3 separate regions of the Homo sapiens genome follow, and all the other regions are linked to region 3. The links are contacts of gene promoters, found by promoter capture Hi-C in blood cells and fetal thymus (Javierre and others, 2016). All regions are on one chromosome and are shown on one strand. Each heading gives the region's core, a stretch centred on a gene start or on the middle of the fragment in contact. The rest is flanking DNA. Distances are from core to core; before and after follow the strand shown.

Region 1 (4,813 bases), core at 1,161-3,660, 660 kb before region 3:
GAAATGAGCCCTTATGCACCCAATAGGCTGCTTAAGAAATAGAATGCTGGCCGGGCACAGTGGCTCACTCCTGGAATCCCAGCACTTTGGGAGGCCAGGCAGGAGAATCGCTCGAGCCCACAGATATGAGACCAGCCTGGGCAACATAGTGAGATCCTGTCTCTACAAAAAATTTAAAAATTAAGCCGGGCGTGGTGGCTCACGCCTGTAATCCCAGCACTTTGGGAGGCTGAGGTGGGCGGATCACGAGGTTAGGAGATTGAGACCACCCTGGCTAACATGGTGAAACCCCGTCTCTACTAAAAATACAAAAAAAAAAAATTAGCCGGGTGTGGTGGCGGGCGTCTGTAGTCCTAGCTACTCGGGAGGCTGAGGCAGGAGAACGGCGTGAACCCGGGAGGCGGAGGTTGCAGTGAGCTGAGATCATGCCACTGCATTCCAGCCTGGGCGACTGAGCAAGACCCCGTCTCAAAAAAAAAAAAAAAATTAGCTGGGTATGTTGGTGCATGCCTGTGGTCCCAGCTACTCAGGAGGCTGAGGTGGGAGGATTGCTTGAGCCCAGGAGGTCAAGGCTGCAATGAGCTATGATCGCAACCTGGGCAATGGAGCAACACCTTCTCTGGTAAAAAAAAAAAAAAAAAAAAAAAAAAAAGAAGAAGAAGAAATAGAATGCTAAGTATATCTTTGAAGCCACTGTGAGCCCCTCCCAAATGCATCCTCTCCCTCCTTATCCCCCTAGTAATCTGCTCTCAGCTTTTATCGCTTCCTTGCTTTTCTTCATGTTTACCACATTTACGTATGCATGCACATATTGTTGAAGAATATATTGGTTAGTTTTGCTTGTTTTTGAACTTTATACAAAGGTATTATATATTTTTTGTATTCTGTGATTTGCTTGTTTTTTCCTCAACATTATGTTTGGAGGGTTCGTTCATGTTGATGTGCGCACATATGCAGTTTCATTGTGTATCACAATTTACTAATCCATTATCCCATTGGACACTTGGCTTGTTTCCTGTTTTTATTTTTTCTTAATTACAAACAAGGTTACCTTGGGCCCTCCTACCTGTCTGTGGAGCACATGAGTAAGAGTTTCTCTAGCATATATCGTTAAGAGTGAAACTGCTGAGATGAAAGGTATAAACATGGCTAACATGCACAGGAGACTTCCAGTTGCTGTATGTCTTCACCAACACAGGATACTGTTGACTTTTAATTTGTGTCAATCTGCTGGGGATACACTGGTATCTAATTATGTTTTTGAAATTTAATTTTATTTTTTTTTGTAAGGTCTCATTATGTTACCCAGGTTGGTCTCAAACTCCTGGGCTCAAGTGATCCTCCCAGCTCGGCCTCCCAAAGTGCTGGAATTACAGGCATGAGCCACCGCACCCGGCTTGCTTCTTATTCTTGTTATGATTGTTTCCTATAAAGAAAAGAGGGAAATCCTGTCTTTAATTCGCCATGTTCAAATCAGAAATGTACTCCCTTTTCATCTTAGCTTTACATTGCGTTCTCTTTCTTCCTCCTTTGATTAGTGTTGCTAACAAATGTGTCGATTTTATTAGTCTTTTCAAAGAAACCATTTTTGGCTCTTTTGATTCTCTACTGCTTCTTTTTCTTCTCTTATTTTGCTGCTCTTATCTGTGTCTTCCTTCCTTCGACTTCTGTTCCTTCTTTTCTTTATCTCTCTCCTTCTCTTTCCTTCCTTTCTCTCTCTCTCTCTCTCTCTCTTTCTTGTTTCTTCTTTCTTAACAGGGCCTCTGTCACCCAGGTTGGAGTGCAGTGGCATAACCATGGCTCACTGCAACCTCCACCTCCCAGGTTCAAGTGATTCTCATGCCTCGGCCTCCCGAGTAGCTGGAATTACAGGCGTGCACCACCATGCCCAGCTAATTTTTGTATTTTTAGTAGAGACAGGGTTTCTCCATGTAGGCCAGGCTGAACTTGAATTCTTGACTTCAAGTGATCCACCTGCCTTGACCTCCTAATTTTTATATTTTTTGTAGAGACGGGGTCTCACTTTTGTTGCCCAGGCTGGTCTTGAACTCTGGGTCTCCAGCAATCCTCCCTCTACGGCCTCCCAAAGAGATGGCATTACAGGCATGAGCCACCGTGCCCCAGCCAGCTCTCAGATATTTTGTCGAAATGAGATAATGCATCATTGAAAAGCCGTGATCGGTTCATGACAAAGAAACAGGAATACAGCAGGATCCTTTTGGACAGGAGGAAATGCTGAAGGATCTGATTAGTATTTCACCTGGGGACCTCCAAGAAAGGATCTTAAGGCATATACTTGGTTATTCTTTCCGCCTTGGACTTGTTCACCGTCGTTTAACCACACAGGGGAAGTGCAGTAGGCTTTTCTGCCAGTTCTGCATCCGCAGCGAGACTGTGGGCCCAGGTTCTCAGACACAAATCCTAACGGCAGATGGCAGTGTTGCACACAATGGAGCCAGCGTTAAGTACAAAAAGAATTCAAACAAGTGTTATAAATAAATATTTAGGCCAGGCGCGGTGGCTCACACCTGTAATCCCAGCACTTTGGGAGGCCAAGGTGGGTAAATCACCTGAGGTCAGGAGTTTGAGACCAGCCTGGCCAACATGGCAAAACTCCATCTCTACCAAAAATGCAAAAATTAGCCGGGTGTGGTGGTGGCAGACACCTGTAATCCCAGCTACTTGGGAGGCTGAAGTGGGAGAATCGCTTGAACCTAGGAGGCAGAGGTTGCAGTGAGCTGCGATTGTGCCACTGCACTCCAGCCTGGCCGACAGAACAAGACCCTGTCTCAAATGATAATAATAATAAATAAATAAATATTAAAAGTTTAGGCTGTCCTGATCACCACTTGAGGCAGCTGGGACATTAGCTGAGGAGCTTCAGACTGAACCACACATTATCCACATGCCAACTCTTCCCCAGGCCACCACCAGTCTCACTGTCAAGGCCGGTACACGGCTTCTCAACATGGAGAAGAAAAGCCACAAGGTGGCCGGGCACGGTGGCTCATGTCTGTAATCCCAGCACTTTGGGAGGCCGAGGCGGGCGGATTACCTGAGGTCAGGAGTTCGAGACCAGCCTGGCCAACATGGTGAGTCCCTGTCTCTACTAAAAATACAAAAATTAGCCGGGTGTGGTGGCACACGCCTGTAATCCCAGCTACTTGGGAGGCTGAGGCAGGAGAATCACTTGAGCCCAGGAGATGGAGGTTGCAGTGAGCCGAGATTGCGCCACTGCACTCCAGCTTGGCTGACAGAGCGAGACTCTGTCTCAAAAAAAAAAAGAGAAAAGCCACAAGGCTCTGAGTGAGTCCTAATGCTTGCCACTGCAATCAGACATGCTCTGTAATCACGCTAAAGACGGATGGCAATCTAGACAGTAAGAAGGAGCTGAAGGAGCTGGCTTGTGTATGACATCAGGCATTGCCCTGAAAGATAAGGAAGATAGTCTGGGTGCAGTGGTTCATTCCTATAATCCCAGCACTTTGGGAGGCCAAGGCAGGCAGATCATCTGAGGTCGGGAGTTTGAGACCAGCCTGACCAATATGGAGAAACCCTGTCTCTACTAAAAATACAAAATTAGCTGGGCATGGTGGCACATGCCTGTAATCCCAGCTACTCGGGAGTCTGAGGCAGCAGAATCACTTGAACCAGGGAGGCGGATGTTGCTGTGAACTGAGATCACGCCATTGCACTCCAGCCTGGGCAACAATAGTGAAAACTCTGTCAAAAAAAAAAAAAAAAAAAGAAAGAGAGAAAGATGCCAAATATCAAAATGTTATAAACTCTGTGTGATTCCATTTATATGACATTCTTGAAAAGACAAAACTGTAGTGATGGAGAACAGATCAGTGGTTGCTAGGAGGTGGGGGTGGGTGGGGGGTGACTGTGGAGGGCAGCATGAGGGAGATTTTGGGGTGATGGAACTGTGCTGTGTCCTGTTTGTGGTGGTGGTTGCATGAATCTATACACTTGTTAAGATGCATTGAACTGTAAACATCCCCTAAAAATTCATTTTACGCTATGATAATGTAGAAAATAGAGCAGAGAGACAGCAATAACCATTTTCCCAGAAATGGGATAATCTTTAAGCGAGAGCATTTTTTTATAACTATGAATCTGATCAATGAATTGTGTGTCCCTTTCTTTTTCCTGTTACTGGCCTTTATTTATCTTTAATATTCACAGCAATTCTTGGCCCGTTTCACTCCATGTGTTTATCAGCTCCTCTATTCACAGTGTTCCCAAAATGTGCTAGAATTTACCTCCTATATCTAAATGTCCTAGACACAGCATATAAGGACAGAAATTAAGTCAATGAGTGGACAGGAAAGAAGATTTAGTAAATGCAATATTTTGAGAAGTCATTTTAGAAACCCAAGCTGCTAAGCCAAATATTTTAATTCTCTAAACAACACGAGCATTTAGAGGACAGTATTTCTAAGTTTACTTCTACCAGGTAGCATGTCCTTTATCCTTTTAAGAGACCTTCTTTTTTTTTTTTGAGATGGAGTTTTACTCTGTCATCCAGGCTGTAGTGGCATGATCTTGGCTCACTGCAACCTCCGTGTCCCGGGTTCAAGCAATAAGAGACTTAAAATTATGTTGGGACATCACCATAAAGCACCTACCCAATTTTAGCAAATGGTAAGGGAGTTAAGGAAGCGTTCAAAAGGAAATCCAAATAGAATGATAAAAATAAAGCAGGTTCTAAGGTCAGGAGTTCAAGACCAGGCTGGCCAACATGGTGAAACCCTGTCTCTACTGAAAATACAAAAATTAGCCGGGCCTGGTGGCGGGCGCCTGTAATCCC
Region 2 (4,586 bases), core at 1,543-4,042, 680 kb before region 3:
CTAAGAGTTCCTCTCCTTTTTAGAAAGTTGGTAGTCTCTGCTTCTCCTTGGCCACCCCTATAACCTGTTCTTGTCCTGTGGGAGCTTTTGCTTGACCCCACTTCACAGGCTGGGGTCCAGTTCCCCAGCTTGACCCTCAAGGCCTTTCCCACTCAGGCAGCTTTGCCTCTCTGCCGCTTTCCCTCCCTATTCCTTTCCTTTCTTCACCTTCCTCTCCTGGCCCAGGGAACACTGGATGACTCCGTCGTATGTCCCATCCCACTGGCCTCCCTGTCTCGGCACCTGCAGGCCCCGTCGCCCAACAGGCAGTTCTTCCTGTGGTTACATCCTACTCATTCATCCAGGCCCTGACCACATGCACATCCTCCAGAGACCCTCGCTTGTCTCCCTGTTGGAAAGTGCTCCCTGCTTCCCTCCTCTGGCCACCCACAAAGCCATTGCTATCCCTTATCAGCCCTTTTCTACATACACATGCACACATGCACACACATGCGCACACACACGCACGCACGCATACATGCCCACACACATACACACGTGCGTACACACACACATCCCTTACCAGCCGCTTTTACACACACACACACACACACACACACACAGAGCTAAGCATCCGCTGTGTAGATGCTGGGGAAGCAACTAGGGAAATGACCTTTGGGAGTGTTAAAGAAAAAAGTGAGGGTGGGCAAGGTGGTTCACATCTGTTATCCCAGCACTTTGGGAGGCCAAGGCATGAGGATCACTTGAGCCCAGGAGTTCAAGACCACCCTGGCCAACATGGCAGGACCCGGTCTCTACAAAAAATTATCCAGGTGTGGCAGCGCATGCCTGTAGTCTCAGCCACTCTGGAGGCTGAGGTGGGACTATCGTCTGAGCCCGGGAGGTCAAGGCTGCAGTGAGCCGTGTTGGTGCCTGTAGCAAAACAAAACAAAACAAAAGTCATTCAATAATACTTGTTAAAGCACAGTAAAGGTTGGGTGCACACAAGGTAAAGGCAGGGCTCACGCCTGTAATCCCAGCACTTTGGGAGGTCGAGGTGGGTGGATCACCTGAGGACAGGAGTTTGAGACCAGCCTGGCCAACATGGTGAAATCCCATTTCTACTAAAAATACAAAAATTAGCTGGTCAAGGCCGGGCGCAGTGGCTCACGCCTGTAATCCCAAAACTTTGGGAGGCCGAGGCGAGTGGATCACAAGGTCAGGAGTTCAAGACCAGCCTGGTCAATACGGTGAAACCCGTCTCTACTAAAAATACAAAAATTAGCCGGGCGTGGTGGCAGGCACCTGTAGTCGCAGCTACTTGGAAGGCTGAGGCAGGAGAATTGTTTGAACCTGGGAGGCGGAGGTTGCAGTGAGCCAAGATTGTGCCACTGCACTCCAGCCTGGGTGACAGAGTGAGACTCTGTCTCAATAATAATAATAATAATAAAATTAGCTGGGTGTGGTGGCATGTGCCTGTAATCCCAGCTACTCGGGAGGCTGAGGCAGAGAATCACTTGAACCTGGGAGGCGGAGGCTGCAGTGAGCCAAGATCGCGCCACTGCACTCCAGCCTAGGTGACACAGTGAGACTCCATCTCAAAAAAAAAAAAAAAAAAGAAAAAAAAGCACAGTAAGGCAGACTTTATTCAGGACCATGGAGATAGACACAGGAACTGCTGGAGTGGGCTCTTGCAGTTGGGGAGAGAGACTGGGCTCAACTCCCAGTACAGCATGGGCGAGTGGGGGGTGATAGCCAAGGAGCAGGGTGGGGGCCAGGGGATGGGGAATTACTAAGAGCAACATCAGGGGTCGGGGATTCTAGCTAAACTCACCTAACACGATTCTAGCTGAAGACAGGCTAGGGTGACCAGACATCACCAGAGGGGTGATGGGGAGGAGAAGCCTGACCAGATATCAAGGGTGATCAGATATGGAGGGTGGGGGGTTTCTGCCACAGTGAGCTAGCAGGGTTCTTGCTAAAACTGGATTGTATAAGGAAGCACACAGATGGGTCTAGGAGAAGCCTCAGGGGCCCGACTAATATTGGGTCAAGCAGAGTCCTTGTCAGGAGCCTCCGGGTGACTTGTCTGTCTGCACACCTCAGGGGAGGAGAGGCCCCTGACCTGGGCTACCAGGCCAGACTGAGAATAAACTCCTCTACGGAGAAAACATTCAGCAACCTGTAACTTAAAAGAGGACTTTCCAGACTGCGAAAACAACCAAAGCAAGGTCACTGCGTCTGAAGGGGCGTGGCCCACCTGGAGCCCAAGGCAGCCTTCCCTTCTGGGAAGGCGGGGAGGGAGCTGAAAGGGAGCAGAGGCTGACCACAAACTGTCCTGGAGGCTACGCTCAAGACTTTTTTTTTTTTTTTCTGAGACTGAGTCTGGCTTTGTCACCAGGCTGGAGTGCAGTGCCGCAATCTCAGCACACTGCAACCTCCGACACCCTGGTTCAAGCAATTCTCCTGCCTCAGTCTCCGGAGTAGCTGGGACTACAGGCATGTGCCACCACACCCAGCTACTTTTCGTATGTTTAGTGGAGACGGGGTTTCACCATGTTGACCAGGATGGTCTCGATCTCCTGACCTCGTGATCTGACCACCTCAGCCTCCCAAAGTGCCGGGATTACAGGCGTGAGCCACCGCGCCCTGCCAAGACTTTTGTTGACTCCAGCATAATTGGAAAACCAGTTGAGTTTTTAAAGCACAGAGGTTACATAATAAGTCTGTATTTTGCTAGAATGTAAAACCCATCAGGGCAGGGATTTTGGTCTGTTTTATTTCCAGAACACCTGGTAATAACTGAATAAACAATTGTGTAATGTATGAGTGAGCGAATGAGTGAATGGGCTGCAGGAAGGTAGATCATGCTGGCCACAGTGCAGAGATTGACTTAAGTGGGCAGAGTCTGGGAAGGGAGGTCAGGAGGCTGGGATACCAGGAGAGAATGAAAAGGGCCAGTTGGTGCAGAGAGCAGCCGGGGACAGACTGGAGGGGACAAGTGGAGAGGTTTAGAGGTGACTTTACAGTGTACTTCATACTTCAAAAGTCTGGCACAGACTAGCCATTTGTGGACATTCTAGATCTGATCAAAAGCAGAACCACCTGGCCCTTGACTCCAGCAACACCATGGCTGGCCTGGAATTTCCTCCCCGGCAACGGTCGTTCTCACAGCATTTCTTCCCAGTTTACTTAGAGCTTTCGCAGACATTGCCTCATCAGATCCTTATCACAGCCCTGAGGATGGGGACTCATTAGCTCCATTTTACAGACTCAAAAACAGAGGCCAAGAAAGGTTATGTGACTTCCCTGGGGTAACACATGGGAAACATGGAATTCAGATCCAGGTCCACCAGTCTCTGCCTCCAGGGTCCTTTCTGCTTCCTCACTCAATTGGAGAGATGTGATTAGCAAATGTGAAAGAGAGCACCAGGCAGCGTGTGGATTCAGCATGAAATGGGATATTAAGAGTGATATTAATAATAATGCATGGCTCTGATGTTCATCAAGCACTGCTGTGTGCCAGCTTCTACTCCAAGCACTTGACCCGAGTCCCCTCATTCATTCCTCAGACACTCTTTGAGTTTGGTCTGTCATTCTCCCCATTTTACACGTAGTACTGGCCAAGCACGTGAGGGACACCACTGTGGGCTTAGCCACCAGGGAAGGCCTCAGAGAGGACGTAAGATGCGGGCAGGGGAGGAAGAAGGCACCTTGAGGCAGGCTTGGCTTGAGCGAAAGTGTGGAGGAGTGGGTGAGAAAGGAGGGGAGAAGCCAATGGGTGCATGAGACAAGGCCCTGGCCTGCGTGCTCTCCAGGAGGGGCCAGGCCTGGCATTGAGGTCTGGCCACAGTAAGTCCCTAGGGCAGGGGCTGACAACAGGGTGATGAGGGTGCCCTGGGCTTCGGTGAGGAAGAGGGGTGGGAGAGGGAGACAGCTGGCTGGTCAGGGCACTGCGGGTTGGTTTGGAAGTCCTGTGCTCAATCTGTCCTCCCACCCCAGCCTCCCAAGTAGCTGTGACCACAGGCAACGCGACCACACCCAGCAAATTTTATTTATTTATCTTTTTGAGACAGGGTCTCACTCTGGTTGCCCAGGCAGGTGTGCAGTGGTGTGATCTCTGCTCACTGCAGCCTCAACCTCCCTGGCTTAGGTGATTCTCCCACCTCAGCCTCCCAAGTAGCTGGGACTACAGACAAGTGCCACCACACCCGGCTAATTTTTGTATTTTTAATAGAGATGGGGTTTTGCCATGTTGCCCAGGCTGGTCTCAAGCTCCTGGACTCAAGCAATCCGCCTGCCTTGGCCTCCCAAAGTGTTGGGATGACAGGCATGAGCCACTGTCCCGGCCAGCACCCAGCAAATTTTATGTAGCACATTTTAAGATGCCAGTAAACCAGAGGTTGCACACTGGTGCCCATAGGTTTGTTTTGTTTTGTTTTGTTTTGTTGTTTGTTTTTGAGATGGAGTCTTGCTCTGTCGCCCAGGCTGGAGTGCAGTGACACAATTTCGGCTCACTGCAAGCTCCGCCTCCCGGGTTCATCCATTCTCCTGCCTCAGCCTCCCGAGTAGCTGGGACTACAGGAACCCACCATCATGCCTGGCTA
Region 3 (4,792 bases), core at 2,185-4,684:
ACAGCCTTGCCGGCGAAGCGGGAGCAGCCGCCTTCCCTGACCAGGAACGGCCCACTGAGCTGCGGGCAGCGGCTCCGCAAGAGTCTGTCTTCGATGACCCGCGTCGTTGGCGGGCTGGTGGCGCTACGCGGGGCGCACCCCTACATCGCCGCGCTGTACTGGGGCCACAGTTTCTGCGCCGGCAGCCTCATCGCCCCCTGCTGGGTGCTGACGGCCGCTCACTGCCTGCAGGACCGGCGAGTACCCGCCCGCCCAGAGCCGCCCCAGGGGCCGCGGCTCCTCCGTCTCCCAGCGCAGCTTCCACGCTGCACCCGAACCCGTGCCCTACCTTCTCCCGCCCCACCCTTCTTTCCACGCCCCTCCGGAGCTCCCGGGGAGGAAGCTGGAACACGGGATTGGGGTTCGGGAGCAGGGGGCTTCCCCAGAACGCTTGTGGCCAGGTCTGAGAGCGCTGCCTCTCCCCTACCCCCCCCGCAGGCCCGCACCCGAGGATCTGACGGTGGTGCTCGGCCAGGAACGCCGTAACCACAGCTGTGAGCCGTGCCAGACGTTGGCCGTGCGCTCCTACCGCTTGCACGAGGCCTTCTCGCCCGTCAGCTACCAGCACGACCTGGGTGCGTGGGGGCGCCCCGCGGGGACGGGAAGAGAGCTTGGGGCCCCGGCGTCCCCGCCTCACGCTCCTCTCCGCCCGGGTTAGCTCTGTTGCGCCTTCAGGAGGATGCGGACGGCAGCTGCGCGCTCCTGTCGCCTTACGTTCAGCCGGTGTGCCTGCCAAGCGGCGCCGCGCGACCCTCCGAGACCACGCTCTGCCAGGTGGCCGGCTGGGGCCACCAGTTCGAGGGTAGGCACAACTGCTAGGGGCAGGGGTAGGGGAGGAGACCTTTGATCACTGGGTTAGGCGGAAGAAGCCCGCGACTTTGGTATCGTTCCGGGTGCCTACAGAATGGGTGGCGCTGACCTGATGGGTTGTGAGAATGTGTAGGTGAATCCCAGGTAGAATCCCAGGGCCTGGGATTCACTGCTGGGATCCCCAAATCTCCTGGGGATACAGGGAGAATCGAACTTGCTCTTGGTTCCCTCTGGGCGCCGGGCTGCAAAGGCCAACTAGGACGCTGGCCCCGCGCTCCGGGCTAGTGTGGGAGCCAGGTTCTGCGACTCTGGATGGGTGGTGGGGGAGGGGTTTCTGTTTCCGCTCCGCCCATTCAAATCCTGGCTTTTCTCTGGACCTCAGCCTCCTTGCCTATGAAATTGAATTAATGGCACCTCCTCCCCTTCGGGCTTGCTGCGAGAGAGGAAGGGCATGAGTGGGTTTACAAGCGCCTGGAGCAGCTTTGTCCATCGTCCGGGCGGCAAGCGTTGTCAGATGGGGTGTGAAGAAGGCGCTCTGTGTTCGCAGGGGCGGAGGAATATGCCAGCTTCCTGCAGGAGGCGCAGGTACCGTTCCTCTCCCTGGAGCGCTGCTCAGCCCCGGACGTGCACGGATCCTCCATCCTCCCCGGCATGCTCTGCGCAGGGTTCCTCGAGGGCGGCACCGATGCGTGCCAGGTGAGCTCTTAGCCCGGTTGGCGCCCTTCCCCGAGGCCGTCAGGCACAAATCTCAGGTCCACAGCGCTGAGCTGCGTGTTTCCGACCCAGGGTGATTCCGGAGGCCCGCTGGTGTGTGAGGACCAAGCTGCAGAGCGCCGGCTCACCCTGCAAGGCATCATCAGCTGGGGATCGGGCTGTGGTGACCGCAACAAGCCAGGCGTCTACACCGATGTGGCCTACTACCTGGCCTGGATCCGGGAGCACACCGTTTCCTGATTGCTCAGGGACTCATCTTTCCCTCCTTGGTGATTCCGCAGTGAGAGAGTGGCTGGGGCATGGAAGGCAAGATTGTGTCCCATTCCCCCAGTGCGGCCAGCTCCGCGCCAGGATGGCGCAGGAACTCAATAAAGTGCTTTGAAAATGCTGAGAAGGAAAGCTCTTTTCTTCATGGGTCCCGCCGGGAAATGCCAAGACAGAAAAGCGATTCACAGCTTCTCCACAGCTCTCAGAGAACAAGGTCTATGAGATCTTAACGTGCAAAATCTAGATGCCAGCCCAGCTAATGTTTACTGAGCCTAGGATACTGTATACCAAGCCCTGTGCAAGGAGAAGCTGCATGTTATTCCTTATGAGAAACTAACATTTTGTTTACAGAGCAGTAGTTCTCAGACCATACATTAAGATCACTTGGGGAGCGTTTTGAGCCAATCTATGCCCAAGTTCCACCTCAGACCAATTAAATCAGTATGTCTAGGGATGGGGCATGGGTAGTGGTATATTTGTAAAACTCCCCAGATAATTCCATGTACAGCCAAGGTTGAGAATCGTGGTTAGAAATACTTAGCATTGGCCGGGCGCGGTGGCTCACGCCTGTAATCCTAGCACTTTAAGAGGCCAAGGCAGGTGGATTGCTCAGGAGTTCGAAACCAGCCTGGGCAACACGATGAAACCCCGTCTCTACTAAAATACAAGAAATTAGCCGGGCACGGCGGCGTGCGCCTGTAGTCCCAGCTACTCAGGAGGCTGAGGCAGGAGAATCACTTGAACCGGCAGGAAGGAAGGAAGGAAGGAACAGAGGGAGGGAAAGAGAGAGACAGAAAGAAAAGAAAAAAGAAAATAGAAAAAAAGAGCATTGACTGTGGCGTGGACCCTAAGGGCTGGGTGACATATCGTTGTCCCCACCCCAACACGCACTAGTGTAGTGGGTCTGAGAGTCCCTTGGCTAGCAGTACCATCACCAGGGAACTTGTTACACATAACAAATTCTCGGGCTACACTTTATACTGCTGAACAGAAAGTCTGGGGTGGGGCCCAGCAATCTGTTTAACAGCCTTGCGGGGGATTCTGATGTTCTCTCATGCTTAAGAACCACAATCTGGGGGTTGAATGGTTGGTTCCCTTACAAGTGAAGGTCTGGCTGTCCAGACACAACATCCTTTTTTCACAAAACCAGCTTTTTAAAATTAAAAATAGATTGGCCAGATGCGGTGGTTCACGCCTGTAATCTCGTCACTTTGAGAGGCTGAGGCGGGAGGATTGTTTGAGCTCAAGACTTCCTGACCCGCCTGGGCAACATAGTGAGACCTCATCTCAAAAAAATTTTTTTTAATTAAAATTTGTTTTTGCTTTTTTAGAGACGGGGCCTCGCTCTGTGGCTCAGGCTGGCGTGCAGCGACACGATCCTATAATAGTTTACTATAATCTCGCTACTGAGTTCAAGCGATCCGCCCGCCTCGGCCTCCCAAAGCGCTGGGATTACAGGAGTGAGCCGCTGCGCTCTGCCAAACCCATCCTACAGGATAACCTTAGAACTGCGACAGCACTAAACGCCCACGCCCCACGTGCCCCAGCCTGGGTGGTCGCTCCGGGACGGCGCCTTGTGTGACGTCACAGCCCCGCCCAGCCTGCCTCACAGCGCCGCAGGCCTTCCCCGCGTGGCGCCTCTATATTTCCCCGAGAGGTGCGAGGCGGCTGGGCGCACTCGGAGCGCGATGGGCGACTGGAAGGTCTACATCAGTGCAGTGCTGCGGGACCAGCGCATCGACGACGTGGCCATCGTGGGCCATGCGGACAACAGCTGCGTGTGGGCTTCGCGGCCCGGGGGCCTGCTGGCGGCCATCTCGCCGCAGGAGGTGGGCGTGCTCACGGGGCCGGACAGGCACACCTTCCTGCAGGCGGGCCTGAGCGTGGGGGGCCGCCGCTGCTGCGTCATCCGCGACCACCTGCTGGCCGAGGGTGACGGCGTGCTGGACGCACGCACCAAGGGGCTGGACGCGCGCGCCGTGTGCGTGGGCCGTGCGCCGCGCGCGCTCCTGGTGCTAATGGGCCGACGCGGCGTACATGGGGGCATCCTCAACAAGACGGTGCACGAACTCATACGCGGGCTGCGCATGCAGGGCGCCTAGCCGGCCAGCCAGGCCGCCCACTGGTAGCGCGGGCCAAATAAACTGTGACCTGGGCGCGGCTGGCTCCTCCTCCACTTGCGCGGTGGGGGGAGTTGTAAATAAGGAAACTGGTCTTTGCAAGACGGTTACCTGGTGGAGCCGGGATTTTGAGTCTAGAGGCTGCCAGGCCCCTGTGCCCTACACCCTGCTCTCCCATGGACGCCTTGCAGAGGCTCCTGGCCTGACTGCTGCTCCTTGGCGCGTTCCCAGGGTCCTAGGGACTCCGCAGCTGAGGAAGAGTCCAAGGGTGGGGGCTTCTCAAAGTCTGTTTCAGCCTTAGCGTCCTTTCTCAGAGATATTCCCACACATTAGGCAGGACAAGTAAAGGGAGCCCCCTCCCCATCCCGCGAACACCTCTCCCCATCAGGGTGTCAGGCTGGAGGCCAATTTGCTCCTCCCCCCTCCACTCATACCTCAAGCACTAGCAAGTTGTGAGTGGGTGACAGGATGGGCTTGGTGGCTTGTAAAGCAGTTCTGGGGCTCACAGGCCTCTGCATCTCTGCCCACATTCCTCCAAGGGGAGCCTACTGAGAGGGCTCATGTCCAAGACCATCGCAATTGGGTTTGAGACCTTACATCCTGCCTTCCCCAGGCCTTCGAAAAGGCCCCGCAGGAGTCCCTGGACTAGAGGGAGGAACTCTGGCATCCCTACCCGGGAGTCTCACTCTGCAGGCCTCAGTTTCAGGGTGACCTATGGAGGAGGGGGAATTGAAAAGCTTGGGTAAGTTTGAGGCCTGGTTTATTGCCCAAAGATAGTGGACAAAAGTGGGAGGGAGGGTGTCTGGTCCCTGCCCTCCATGTGCTGGGGCCCAGGGCATGGC

What was found. Contacts are between HindIII fragments. The CHiCAGO score rates a contact against its expected background, and 5 or more counts as called.
Region 1: a contact is called between a fragment that was not itself captured here and the fragment with the promoter of PFN3 in region 3, in 2 of 17 cell types (total B cells and naive B cells). The highest score is 9.7, in total B cells.
Region 2: a contact is called between a fragment that was not itself captured here and the fragment with the promoter of PFN3 in region 3, in 1 of 17 cell types (total B cells). The highest score is 5.7, in total B cells.

What each region holds. Positions count from the first base shown.
Region 1 is chr5:178,059,785-178,064,597 of GRCh38, reverse strand. It overlaps the pseudogene FAM153CP. Among named protein-coding and RNA genes, the nearest start is that of N4BP3, 51 kb to the left of the region's middle. The HindIII fragment of the contact is 9,851 bases long and covers 1-4,813 here.
Region 2 is chr5:178,079,435-178,084,020 of GRCh38, reverse strand. No RefSeq gene overlaps it. Among named protein-coding and RNA genes, the nearest start is that of N4BP3, 32 kb to the left of the region's middle. RefSeq lists a cis regulatory region at 1,672-2,344. The HindIII fragment of the contact is 6,225 bases long and covers 1-4,586 here.
Region 3 is chr5:177,399,303-177,404,094 of GRCh38, reverse strand. PFN3 (profilin 3) reads left to right here and starts at 3,434. Exons shown (of 1, transcript NM_001029886.3): 1 at 3,434-3,986. The coding sequence starts at 3,519. The coding sequence ends at 3,932. F12 (coagulation factor XII) reads left to right here. Exons shown (of 14, transcript NM_000505.4): 10 at 5-236; 11 at 478-614; 12 at 698-841; 13 at 1,397-1,545; 14 at 1,636-1,954. The coding sequence ends at 1,803. RefSeq lists silencers at 139-188, 219-268 and enhancers at 1-411, 1,268-2,125. The HindIII fragment of the contact is 6,138 bases long and covers 1-4,689 here.